Linked DNA regions of Homo sapiens: region 2 is linked to region 1. The links are contacts of gene promoters, found by promoter capture Hi-C in human tissues and cell types (Jung and others, 2019). All regions are on one chromosome and are shown on one strand. The core of a region is centred on a gene start or on the middle of the fragment in contact, and the rest is flanking DNA. Distances in the headings are between cores, read along the strand shown.

Evidence for each region. The method cuts DNA at HindIII sites, captures the fragments that hold promoters and counts their contacts. A contact is called where the count stands out against the background at its distance.
Region 2: a fragment that was not itself captured here is called in contact with the fragment with the promoter of TAS2R5 in region 1 in 1 of the 25 tissues and cell types used here (mesenchymal stem cells).

The regions. Positions count from the first base shown.
Region 1 is chr7:141,787,058-141,793,130 of GRCh38, reverse strand. It overlaps TAS2R5 (taste 2 receptor member 5), which reads right to left and starts at 2,914. Exons shown (of 1, transcript NM_018980.3): 1 at 1,764-2,914. The coding sequence starts at 2,769. The coding sequence ends at 1,870. It also overlaps the pseudogene TAS2R6P. The HindIII fragment of the contact is 8,730 bases long and covers 1-6,073 here.
Region 2 is chr7:141,007,783-141,013,855 of GRCh38, reverse strand. It overlaps MRPS33 (mitochondrial ribosomal protein S33), which reads left to right. Exons shown (of 3, transcript NM_053035.3): 2 at 3,196-3,437. The coding sequence starts at 3,223. Among named protein-coding and RNA genes, the nearest start is that of MRPS33, 4.1 kb to the left of the region's middle. RefSeq lists an enhancer at 396-465. The HindIII fragment of the contact is 3,521 bases long and covers 1-3,411 here.

The DNA of each region.
Region 1 (6,073 bases), core at 1,665-4,164:
ATGACTAATATCCACATGTGCCTAGCATGTACCTCAATTCTCAGATTCAGGTAAGAAAAAGATATGTTTGAGAGAATAGATTAATGAAAGTAGATTAGTGTGATCCATAGGAAGTGAAAAAAAAATATTTAAGAATGCCAAGTGTTGTCCTTTGGATTTCAGATCCCCCTGGAACTGAAACAAAGAAGGCTAGAAAGAAGGAAGAGAATAAGTTGTGTAGAAGGGTCTGTAGAAAGAGGCATGGGGTTCCAAGGAGGGAAGGACATTAGGAAAGTAGCATGTTGTAAAGGAAAGAGCCCTGCACCAGGAGTCAAGAAACAGCTCTAGTCCCAGCACTGCCACAGGCTCTCTATGAAACCCAGGGCAGGCCACTGCCCCTCTCTGGGCATCAGTTTCTCTACCTACAATACAAAGGAGGCATTGTAAAACCAGTTAGCACAGCTATTCAGTCATTTACAAAATATTTATTAAGCGTTTATTATGCAATAGGCAGTGTTCTAGTCACAGAGACGTGGGAGAAAATAAAAACAGACACAGTTCCTACTGCCATGGATCTGGCATTCTAAATGATCTCCCTCCAACTCAAAGACCTGGCACACTAGAACTCTGACTGTAGGCTGTGGTGAGGCCACAGTAGACAGGCAAAATGGCTAAATGACTGAAGAGCAGACAGCGTGACCTCTTCAAAGGCAGTCTATTTTTTTTAAGCAGAATCAAGTGCCCCTCATTCTCATATTGCCCCACTTCAGTTCCTGGGCCTTGGAGCTTAATACAGATCATGGCATCCAACTGACTTTTATTCTGCTTTTTTTTTTTTTTTTGAGACGGCATCTCGCTCTGTTGCCCAGGCTGGAGTGCAGTGGCATGGTCTCGGCTCACTGCCATCTCCACCTCCTGGGTTCATGCCATTCTCCCGCCTCAGCCTCCCGAGTAGCTGGGACTACAGGTGCCCGCCAACACACCAGGCTAATTTTTTGTATTTTTAGTAGAGATGGGGTTTAATCATGTTAGCCAGGATGGTCTTGATCTCTTTTTTTTTTTTTTTTTGAGACGGAGTCCCGCTCTGTCGCCCAGGCCGGACTGCGGACTGCAGTGGCGCAATCTCGGCTCACTGCAAGCTCCGCTTCCCGGGTTCACGCCATTCTCCTGCCTCAGCCTCCCGAGTAGCTGGGACTACAGGCGCCCGCCACCGCGCCCGGCTAATTTGGTCTTGATCTCTTGACCTCGTGATCCGCCCGCCTCAGCCTCCCAAAGCGCTGGGATTACAGGCGTGAGCCTGATTTTTATTCTGAAAGCCAAGGCTAGGGCTCAAAGAAACTTCCAGAAATATAAAGATGTTTTGTTTTGTTTTTCAGTTAGATAATTAGATACATTACAGCAGAGAAATGGGGAAATTATTTGATACTTTTTAAAAAGCATATCTAAAATGACTAACATTAATGTATAGGTAAAATTTCATAAAAATTAATGATCACTATAATTGTTCCTAATCTCTGTTTTCTATACTAGGAAAAACACAATTTATATATGAATTTTTGCTATATGTAGACAGAATTGTTCCTAATCTCTGCTTTTTATAATAGGAAAAACACGATTTATATATGAATTATTTGCTATATGTAGAGAGAATATAATACCTCTTTTACCAAACATGAAGCCCTAGCCTTGATTTCTGTGGTACATTAAAAAAATATACTTTGCATTGCCAAAAGAGACATAGTATTGGGTTTTGATCCGTATTTTCTGTTGCTCATTCATTACATTGGTGTAAAAGAAGGAAAATCTTAAAAGACATGGAAAGCAGCTCCCTTATAGAGAGCTATCAAAAGAGCGTCCCAAGAGTGTCCTGACCACACTTTTCTTCCCAGATCATGGGCCCCAGCATCTCCGAGCACACACTGTCTTCCACAGGATCTTCTGACAAGTCTGCTTCACCCTAGGAATCCCCATGATCAATATGAGAGAATGAAGAGAAGGATAGGCTGCCATGAGTGTCTCCCAGATGAAGACACTGGTGAGATCAGGAGGATAAGTCTTGGAGGTGATGGAGAAGGGGCTGGCCATGATATAAACCAGGTGAAGTAAGAGGAAGCAGCCCAAGGACTTCAGCGCAGTGATGTGAGCCTTGGCCCGGACATCCCTCCTACCAGCTGAATGGACCTTCATCTTCTTGTGGTGTGTATACAAAGAGACAATCAGCATCCCAGAGGAAACAAGAAACACCACTAAAGGCAAATAACTTCCTGAATTGAGCTGAAATGCATACAGGTACTGCCAGCTTTCAAAGGGATACCGAATGCTGCTGTTTCCTTGGGGAGGATGATAGAATGTTAAGCCAATTTGGACTGTAAGTAACAAATTGATTATAAAGTAGCCCAGAAGGCACCAGAGACTCAGGTTATAGGCCCTCTGCTTCAGCCACAAGTAGGCCGGGCGATCGAAGGTCGTGATCTTCTTGCAATAGAAGACACTGAGGAAGGTGGCAAACCATAAGCTGGCCTGGCTTACCAGGACCCAGAAGATACTAAGATAGCGAAGCCAACGGCTGCTCTGGAAAAGTGGAAACAAGCTTAAGTCCAAAATGATCAGCCACTGCAGGAGAAATCGGCAGCCAGCCAGGCCCAGGATAATGAGGTTATATGAGGACCAGTTGAATTTTCTGATCCATTCTCTAAAACTCCAGACCACCAGGCTTCCATTTCCAATTAAACCGATGAGAAATTCAACCACTGCCACCAGCATCAGCAGTCCTAGGCCAGCGCTCAGCATGGCTGGGGAGAGGAGGCTCTCACTGCTCCTGGCTGAGGTCAGATCCCCTGGTAGTGATAACACACCAGGGTAAATTTTCACACCACAAAATCTGGATTTGGCCTCGTCCTTCCGTAATCTGTCTTCAAGCGAGACTGAACAGCTGTGATGAGGAACAGAGAGGTTGGAAGTTATGATACCATCTGTATTTGCATCTACATGAATGAACCCTGAGTGTAGAACCAGAGATTGCAAACAGTACCACAGACACCGGCTCTCCATCTCAAAGGTTTTGGGCCAAAGTCTAGACACCAGGGTATAACGTAACAAGGCCCCTCAACAAGAAAGACCAAATCAAAACATGCTCAGGTGCTATACAGTGCCAGTTATGAGCTCATATGCTATATAAAAAAAGAAATTTTATTTTCATGAAAAGAACACTGGGCCAGGCATGGTGGCTCACACCTGTAATCCCAACACTTTGAGAGGCCAAGGCGGGTGGATCACCTGAAGCCAGGAGTTCGAGACCACCCTGGCCAACATGGTGAAGCCCCATCTCTACTAAAAATACAAAAATTATCTGGGCGTGGTGGTGGCTGCCTGTAGTCCCAGCTACTCGGGAGGCTGAGGCAGGAGAACCACTTGAACCCAGGAGATGGAAGCTGCAGTGGGCCAAGATCGCGCCACTGCACTCCAGCCTGGGCGACAGAGCAAGACTCCATCTCAAAAAAAAAAAGTAAGCATGCTGAGAACTCTCTACGAAGCTGTAGGCAGGCAGGCCACTGCCCGTCTCTGGGCCTCAGTTGCTCTATTAATAACTGAATGGATTGTAGGATGAGATTTCCATTCCTTCGGACTAAATTTACAAAGTGCTTATTTTGTGTCAAACTACGGTGTACTAGGCACAGGGGACGGCGCCATTATAATACACAGTCCCTGCCTCCAGGTAGCATCCATTGTACATCATCTCCACCAAGCTGCAAGGCCTGGTACTCTAAAACTCTGGCTGTAGGCTATGGAGGGGCAGAGGTGGTCGCGATCTTCTACTGGACTAAAAATCTAGATGAGGCTTGAACTCGTCCAAAAACAGTGTTTCTTCAGTGACTTTCTGATAGAGACATAGTGCCTCTCTCTCCCCACCTGCCCCAATCTAGCCTGGCAGTGGAATTTGCCACCGATCCTGGTAGCCAACTGACACGTTTCCAGAAAGCTAGTCTGGCATCAAAAAAACCAAAGTATCCAGAAATATAAAGGTAGGTTTTTGACTACTTTACTACCGGTGTTGAGAGGCTAAACTACATAGAAAATTGAGATAATAATTTAGCTAATTCCCCTAAGAAAAGTGCTTGCCTAAAAAATATACAGGCTCACCTCTTTTTAAAATATATTATTTTCAAACTATAGCTATTTTCTACTTCCTTTTATCAAAAACATAGCATATTGGCAAAGAAAACTTGATTATCTGCAGTAATTTTTAAAAATGTGATACTTCCCATGCAAAATATGAAAACTCGGTTTTGACTTCTGTAGTTTATTAAAATGATGTGATTTGCATTGCTTAGAGAGCAATAAGCTCCAGTTTCTAGCCTGTTTTTCATGTTACCCTTTCATTTTGTTTCAAAATCAAAGAAGAAATGAGGAGAATTGAGAATAAAAATTTCATTTTTCTAAAATCTACAGTTATTTTTACTGTTGTCAGTGATACAGTTAAGGGCCTGATTAGATCCTTCTTCCAAGTCATGGCCTCTAGGATTTCCATGTACATATCATCTCCTACAGAATTCTCTGACAAGTCTGATTCCTCATAACCATTACAATAGACGGAAATGAAGTATAAACAGCCATGAGTGTTGCAGAGATGGCAAGAATGGTGAGATCAGAGGGAGATTAGAAGGTCATGGAAAAGTGTCTGGCCAAGGCAGAAACCATGTAAAGGGGGAAGTTCAGAGCGATGAGCACCTTGGTTTGAGCCTCCTCCTGACAGCTGTGTGGTCCTCCATCTTCCTGTGATGTCTTTACAAAAAGACAAGTGGAACAGAAACATCACAAATAGCAATCAGTCTCCTTCACTGGACAGCAATCTATAAAAATAACAGATTTAAAATGGGATGCAGGATGTTGCTGTTTCCTGTTAAGGGTTTTTAAAGGGTCCAGCCAACAAGAGCTGAGAAATAAAAAGTGATCTTGAAAGACACTAGCAAAAAACAAAAACCCAGTCTTTTCAGCTACAAGAAGTCAGCGGGACAAAGGTCATGATCTCCATGCAGCAGAAGCCACTGAAGAAAGTGGCAAACTACATGTTGGCCTGGCTTACCAGGACTCGAAGACATTAAGATAGTAAAGCCAACCACTGCTCTGGGAAAGTGGAAACAGACTTATGTCCAACATGATCGGCCTGAGTAGGAGAAAGTGGCTACTTACCAGAATCATGAGAATTTATAGGGACTCCTTACATTTTTTTGACCCATCCTCTAAAACTGCAGACCACAGGGACTCCATTTCCAACCAGGCCAATGAGAAATTCAGCCCCTGCAATGGGCATCAGCAATCCTAGGGCAGCCGCCAACATGGCTGGGGAGGGGAGGGTCTCTCTGCTGAATCAGGAGGTGCCCTGCTTCAGTGCTGATGAACACGTACTGCTGCTGGCTGTGTCAGAATCCCTGGGGACGGTATCAGTATTATGGCAGAGCATTTCACTTCTCACCACTCAGTTTTGTTACTGTCTGAAATCCCTTCTCTGGTAAAGATGTTACAGCTGTGACCAGAAGAAACGTTCTTGAAGGTAACGGTCCCACCGTCACTTACATCTACCTGACACTGGCCTGGGATCTGACATTAGGTACAGAGACACAATTACAGAATGGCCTTCCGAAGGAAAGAACTAAAATCCAGACAGCCTAGAGCACAGTCTCCTGAAATCCTACTTCCACCCGACCTAACTCCACAAAACCTAAGTAAGACAGTCTGAGAATTTAACAGTGGCAAATGCAAGGTACCTCATGTTATAAAAAGGGAAAGCATGGGCCGGGCGCGGTGGCTCACGCCTATAATCCCAGCACTTCGGGAGGCCGAGGCGGGTGGATCACTTGAGGTTAGAAATTCGAGACCAGCCTGGCCAACATGGTGAAACCCCATCTCTACTGAAAATACAAAAATTAGCCGGGCATGGTGGCACACACCTGTAGTCCCAGCTACTCAGGAGGCTGAGGCAGGAGAATCACTTGAACCCGAGAGGTGGAGATTGCAGTGAGCCGAGATCATGCCATTGCACTCTAGTCTGGGCAACAGAGAGAGACTCCGTCTCAAAAAAAAAAAAAAAAAAAAA
Region 2 (6,073 bases), core at 402-2,901, 780 kb after region 1:
TAATCTTTTAAATGCATCAGACCTATCAAAAAGATCAAAGAAGTTTGCCCTGTTATGCCAAAGTAAAAATATGGGAATTTTCTTCTCATGTGGGCTTAATTTGTTTTGCTCAGCACATTTGAGTAATTTGTTTTTGCTTAGCATTTTCAGCTCCAGTTAACTTTTTTCATGAGAGTACAGTTTTCTTTAGTTCACATTTAAAGAAAGGTAACACTTAAAGTGACTTGTACTCCCCGAGAATGGTTTCATGTGAATCAAAATGTAATTGACATGCACGTTGTAAGAAAAGCTCCCGTGTTATTCTTCGTGAGAGACATGTGTCTGTGCACTGTGGAAGGAAACAACAAAGCAGTGTCATTGGTAATTGTTAAAACCACTTTCAGTTTCCTCCTGTTTAGCAAGTGGGCCTTTGTTTCTAGTAAGGGATTCAGGTTTGAAAAGGCTTATTCCCTTTCTCTGTCATAAAACTTTAGGACTTGGATTTTATGATATAACCATGTTCCAGCCTATTCTAGTGTGACCTTTTTACTTACAAGTTATGTATCCCAGTAATTTGCCACATTCCAAAATGGGCATGGACATAACAGCAGCATCCTGTGATGGCTTCAGTGACTACTGTCCTACTGAGTCCCTTCCTCCTCCTGGCTATCTTGTCAAGTTATCAAGGTGCTGGTCCTCTCCCTATGTTTCTCTGGCTGTCAGTCTTTGTAAATGAGGTCATCATTCCAGGGAGGCACAAAGTTTTTACTATATGGAGTATCTATCTGTCTGTCTCTCTCTCTTTTTTTTTTTTTCTTAAACATGATTAAGAACAAGGAATAAACAAATGTGTCTATGTAGAATATATGAAAACCAAACTTACAGATCTGGGCTCGTTCTTTTTTGTAAGTTACCATTTACTACTCAGTGCCACTGTTACTCATTTTCGCACTAGTCATGCAAGCTTTGTTTTCAGAAAAGGAGACTCAGAGAAGATGAGTAACTGTTCACAATAACCCAAGGATTAAGTGACAGAGCCAGTAGTCAAACCTAGGCCTCAGGAATCCCTGTTGCCTCTTCATTGACAAATAAAGGGACTTGGAATTCAGAACAGATTTTCCTGAAAACACTGTAACAAACTGATAGTTCCCATACCAGCTTACAGATAACTAACTGTGGAAATACTGTGCAATTACAGCAGAAATATATTCTGATGCCACAATGGTAATTAAGCAAACAAAGCAAAGTTGATGAAGCAACTATTGTTTTTTAATCTAATGTTTGGAAAAAGGTAACTTTAAAGGGCAAAGGAAGAGAAAAAGCATGCAAAGAAACTAGGTGACTCTGGACATTTGCAAGGCTTTTTAGAGGTTTATGGCACTGATTTGTTTATACATTAAACTGCTAAATGAATTTTTTTCACCTTGAGACTATAACCCTAGTCCTAACAACCCCACCCCCAACCAGAGTTGGCAAAGAAGTGAATCAGGAAACTGAGAATGCTGAATGGAAAAGGAAGAACAGGCTTGTAGGTGATCTGCAGATGGTGGGGAGGGAGGGGTGGACGTTGGATCTGACAGTTCTACCGTTGCCAGCCTTCAGGTGGCACTATTGACCCAAAATTGCTTGGTTGGTGTTCTGAATGGTTTTGAGGTTGACAGTGGTTTGAGATCAGCCTCTGCTTTTTTTTTTTTTTTTTTTTTGACACACAATCTTGCTCTGTCACTCAGGCTATAGAGTACAGTAGTGCAGTCATAACTTAGTGTAACCTCAAACTCCTGTGCTCAAGTGATGTCCCCCTCCTCAGCCTCCACGAGTAGCTGGAACTACAGGTGTGCACTACCATAGCAGACTAATTTTCTTATTTTCTTTTGTTTTTTGTTTTTTTTTCTGTAAAAACAAGATTTCTCCATGTTGCCTGGGCTGGTCTTGAAGTCCTGACCTCAAGCGATCCTCCCACCTCAGCCTCTCAAAGTACTGGGATTATAGGCATGAGCTACCATGCCCAGCCTCCTCTGTTAATGGATCTTGAAACAGGCATTAAAACTTCCTTAATTTAAACACGGTTTGTTTTCTTACAAGAACTATTTTGAAATTCACTTGGCACCATTTTTATGTAGGAGGGTTTTTGGTACATTTCTCCCATTGGTTTTTCAAAGTTTATGCCTTTTTCCTGCTTGAATATCAGCACCTTTTCATCTCAGCTGAACTGTTTCCCAGGATAGTCTCTGAGTCAGCAAAGATTCTCATCTCACTACTAAAATTTCTCATAAATTGGCATATTCTGCCAACAATAACCCCTACGTCTGGTCTAAACTGAGTTGAGATAGTTATTCCACCAGCAGCTTTCTTGATTTTTATGTATCCCCTGTATAGTTTTTTATGTCTGTTAGCTGTAATTCGTGCATATCACGGATATCATTCTTATACCCATTTCAGTGTTGTATGTCTCTGAAGAAAAAGCTACTGTTTCCAGCTGATAAGAACTTAGGTAGTTTGCATTAAAGCAGAATATATAAGATGGAGGATACAGCAAGTAACCTTACAATTCATACGTGCCTTCTATTTAGTAAGAAAATGGATCTTTTGAGCTATTGGATTTATTTTTATAGGGCTACTGTCTGTTTTTCCCAAATGGCTCTCAGTCTCTAGGCAAAATTCAGTTCAGTAACCTAGAAGCCAAATGACCTCATAACTCATTAGCAGCTCTCAGAGCCTTCTGGAGCCCTTGAGGAGAACAGTGTTCAAAGGACTGATAGTAAAGACAACATAATTATGTCTCTGCCATGATTACACCTTTTGATGGCAAGCAGTCAGCATATTAATGCTGCAGATTGCTTAGGTGGGTGTTTTCTGAAGGTATAATGATGCTGGATTAGGATAACTTGTTTCCCTGTCTTCTTCATCCCCAGCCTACAAATAGGTAAACTGACTGTCAGTAAATAACCTGGTGAATCACAAAATAGTTGGTTGCAAAGGAGGCAATACAGCAAGGAAGTAATAGCATGTAAACACGAAGTGCAAAAATCGCAGCTGTAAAGCATGGAAAGGAAATAGCCATTTGGACTGTGGATACTTCTCCACTCCAAGGCATATCCTGCCAACACTGCACTGATCCATGAGTGGCTTGCTGTGTTTGCATTTTCTAACTTATTCATTAGCTAATCTTGGAATTTCTTACCCTAACCTGTTTAACTTTCTTCTCATTTTCAATAGGAACTCTAACTCCTTGCCACTCAAGAAATGTCCTCCCTTTCAGAATATGCCTTCCGCATGTCTCGTCTCAGTGCCCGGCTATTTGGTGAAGTCACCAGGCCTACTAATTCCAAGTCTATGAAAGTGGTGAAACTGTTTAGTGAACTGCCCTTGGCCAAGAAGAAGGAGACTTATGATTGGTATCCAAATCACCACACTTACGCTGAACTCATGCAGACGCTCCGATTTCTTGGACTCTACAGGTGATGACAAACACAAAGAGGGACCTATGAGAGACTTTTTTTCAGTAGATCAGAAAAGGAAAAAAATTAGCCTTTCTATCCTTGTAGTTTTGTTCTTATAATAGAGCCCAGGTAGTTCAAAAGGTACAGTTGGCAGGAGAAAGTCTTCTTTCAAAATACCCATAATGGAGAGACCAAAAAAAAAAAGGAAATTCATGCTTGTTGGAAGATATATTTTAATTATGTCTACAACATGACTAATGTTGAATAGATACTGAGCTGTAGAGAGGTGTTTAATCATTTGTTAATCTAAGAGCACTCTAAAAAGGATGCCAAGAGGCCAGGCGCAGTGGCTCACGCTTGTAATCCCAGCACTTTGGGAGGCCGAGGCAGGCAGATCACGAGGTCAAGAAATCAAGACCATCCTGGCCAACTTGGTGAAACTCTGTCTCTACTAAAAATACAAAAATTAGCTGGGCATGGTGGTGCACGCCTGTAGTCCCAGCTACTCGGGAGGCTAAGGCAGGAGAATTGCTTGAATCTGGGAGGCGGAGGTTGCAGTGAGCCGAGATCGCGCCACTGCACTCCAGCCTGGCAACAGAGTGAGACTCCATCTCGAGAAAAAAAAAAAAAAAACAATGCAGAGAAAAACTGGTCCAAGTACTGAGGAAGAAAGCCTCAGAAACACCAAGGTTGCCAGGGCAGTGGGCTCTTGTTATCAGATGAACAGAGTCCCTGACCGACACCTGATCTGCTGCTTAACTGGTATGTGGGAGCCTTCTTTCTCTTCTGGTGGCATTTTTGTTGACATTTCTTCCTACTGTCTTCTGGCATTTTTATTTTGTACCCTTTTTGACATATTAATTTGGTCTAGATAAGCTGTAGTTTGCCTTTAAGGATAATACGTAAATCACACAGGTTCTTAACACCATGTGTTTGTATGTGTGTGTATGTCTAGGGAGTAGGTGCTTAGAACTGTGTGCATCTCTGAAAAAAAAAAAAAGATCAGGCCAGGCACAATGGCTCAGGCCTATAATCCCAGTGCTTTGGGAGGCCGAGGCAGACAGATCATCTGAGGTCAGGAGTTTGAGACCAGCCTGGCCAACATGGTGAAACCCCGTCTCTACTAAAAATACAAAAATTAGCTGGGCGTGGTGGCACACGCCTGTAATTCCAGCTACTTGGGAGGCTGAGGCAAGAGAATTGCTTGAACCCAGGAGATGGAGGTTGCAGTGAGTCAAGATCATGCCACTGTACTCCAGCCTGGGTGACAAAGCAAGACTCTATCTCAAAAAAAAAAAAAAATCAAATACCTGTGTGATCTTTCTCATTAAATTATTTTTTTGGCCAGGTATGATAGCTCACAGCTGTAATCCCAGCGCTTTGAGAGGCCAAGGCGGGCAGACCACTTGAGGTCAGGAATTCAAGACCAGCCTGGCCAACATGGTGAAACCCCGTCTCTACTAAAAATACAAAAATTAGCTGGGTGTGGTAGCACATGCCTGTAATCCCAGCTACTTGGGAGGCTGAGGCAGGAGAATCGCTTGAACTCAGGAGGAAGAGGTTACAGTGAGCCGAGATCGTGCCACTGCACTCCAGCAACAGAGCGAGATTCGGTCTCAAAAAAAAAAAAAAAAATTATTTTTTTAATTACCAAACTAATACATGCCCATTACAAAAGAATTCAAATAGTACATAATTGTATAAAGTTAAAATACCTACCATCTTTTTAAAAATTTAACAAGTTGTAATTGGAGTTGTCTTTGGGCAACAATACTAAAATTATTGGGAACCATTTATTCTAATACAATAGAATTAATAGTACAGCACAACATTCATTGCAGATCACTAAAGATTGGTACATTCACTATCCAGTGGATATTTCTTACGTACCTTCCACGTGCAGGCACTTAAGATGGCACTAGGGGAACAGCAGTGAACATAATAGATGTGCTTGGTTAACATTAGAGGTTACAATCTATGACATGTTTTGAATGTTTGGAATTGCTTTGGGACTACCTCTCTTGCCATTAGTCTGGGCTCAGAAAATAAAAACTAATTTTATTATAACCCAAAATAAAATATTGGGAGGCAGATATCCTGAGGAGAAGATTATAACCCATGAAAAAATCACATTCAGTTATTTTAATTGATCTTTTTGCTGCTGCTGTCTGTTTGTTTGAAAAATAAAGACTTAACTATCTTTGGGGACAGGGAAAAATAGTTATCCATAGAAAAACAAGATTATTTTCACGTAGTCACTAGGTATGGTAAATGATACCTCTAATGCTAGGCCTCCTGTGGCATCAGGCAGGATGAAACTAGACAGTCTCCAATAAAGAAAATATTATTCAGAGATCTGCAAAAGAGGGAGGGAAGCACCAGTTCTCAGAAACAATTGATTCATTCAGTTAACCAGGTACCTAGCTTGTATCATCAACAGAGACAGAGTCGCCAGAAAGCTTTCTTTCTGTCCAACGGTTGATGAGAATGAAGGAGGGACAGAAGAGGGGGAAAAAAAATAAGTAAATTATAGGATCTGTTACAAAGTTGAACATGCTGTGGAAAAAAATAGTAGAGCCGGCTGAGCAGGATCCAGAGTGCTGACGGGGCCTGCAGTAGGTGGGGAGAGGCTAGATTACAGGATGAAACAGGAC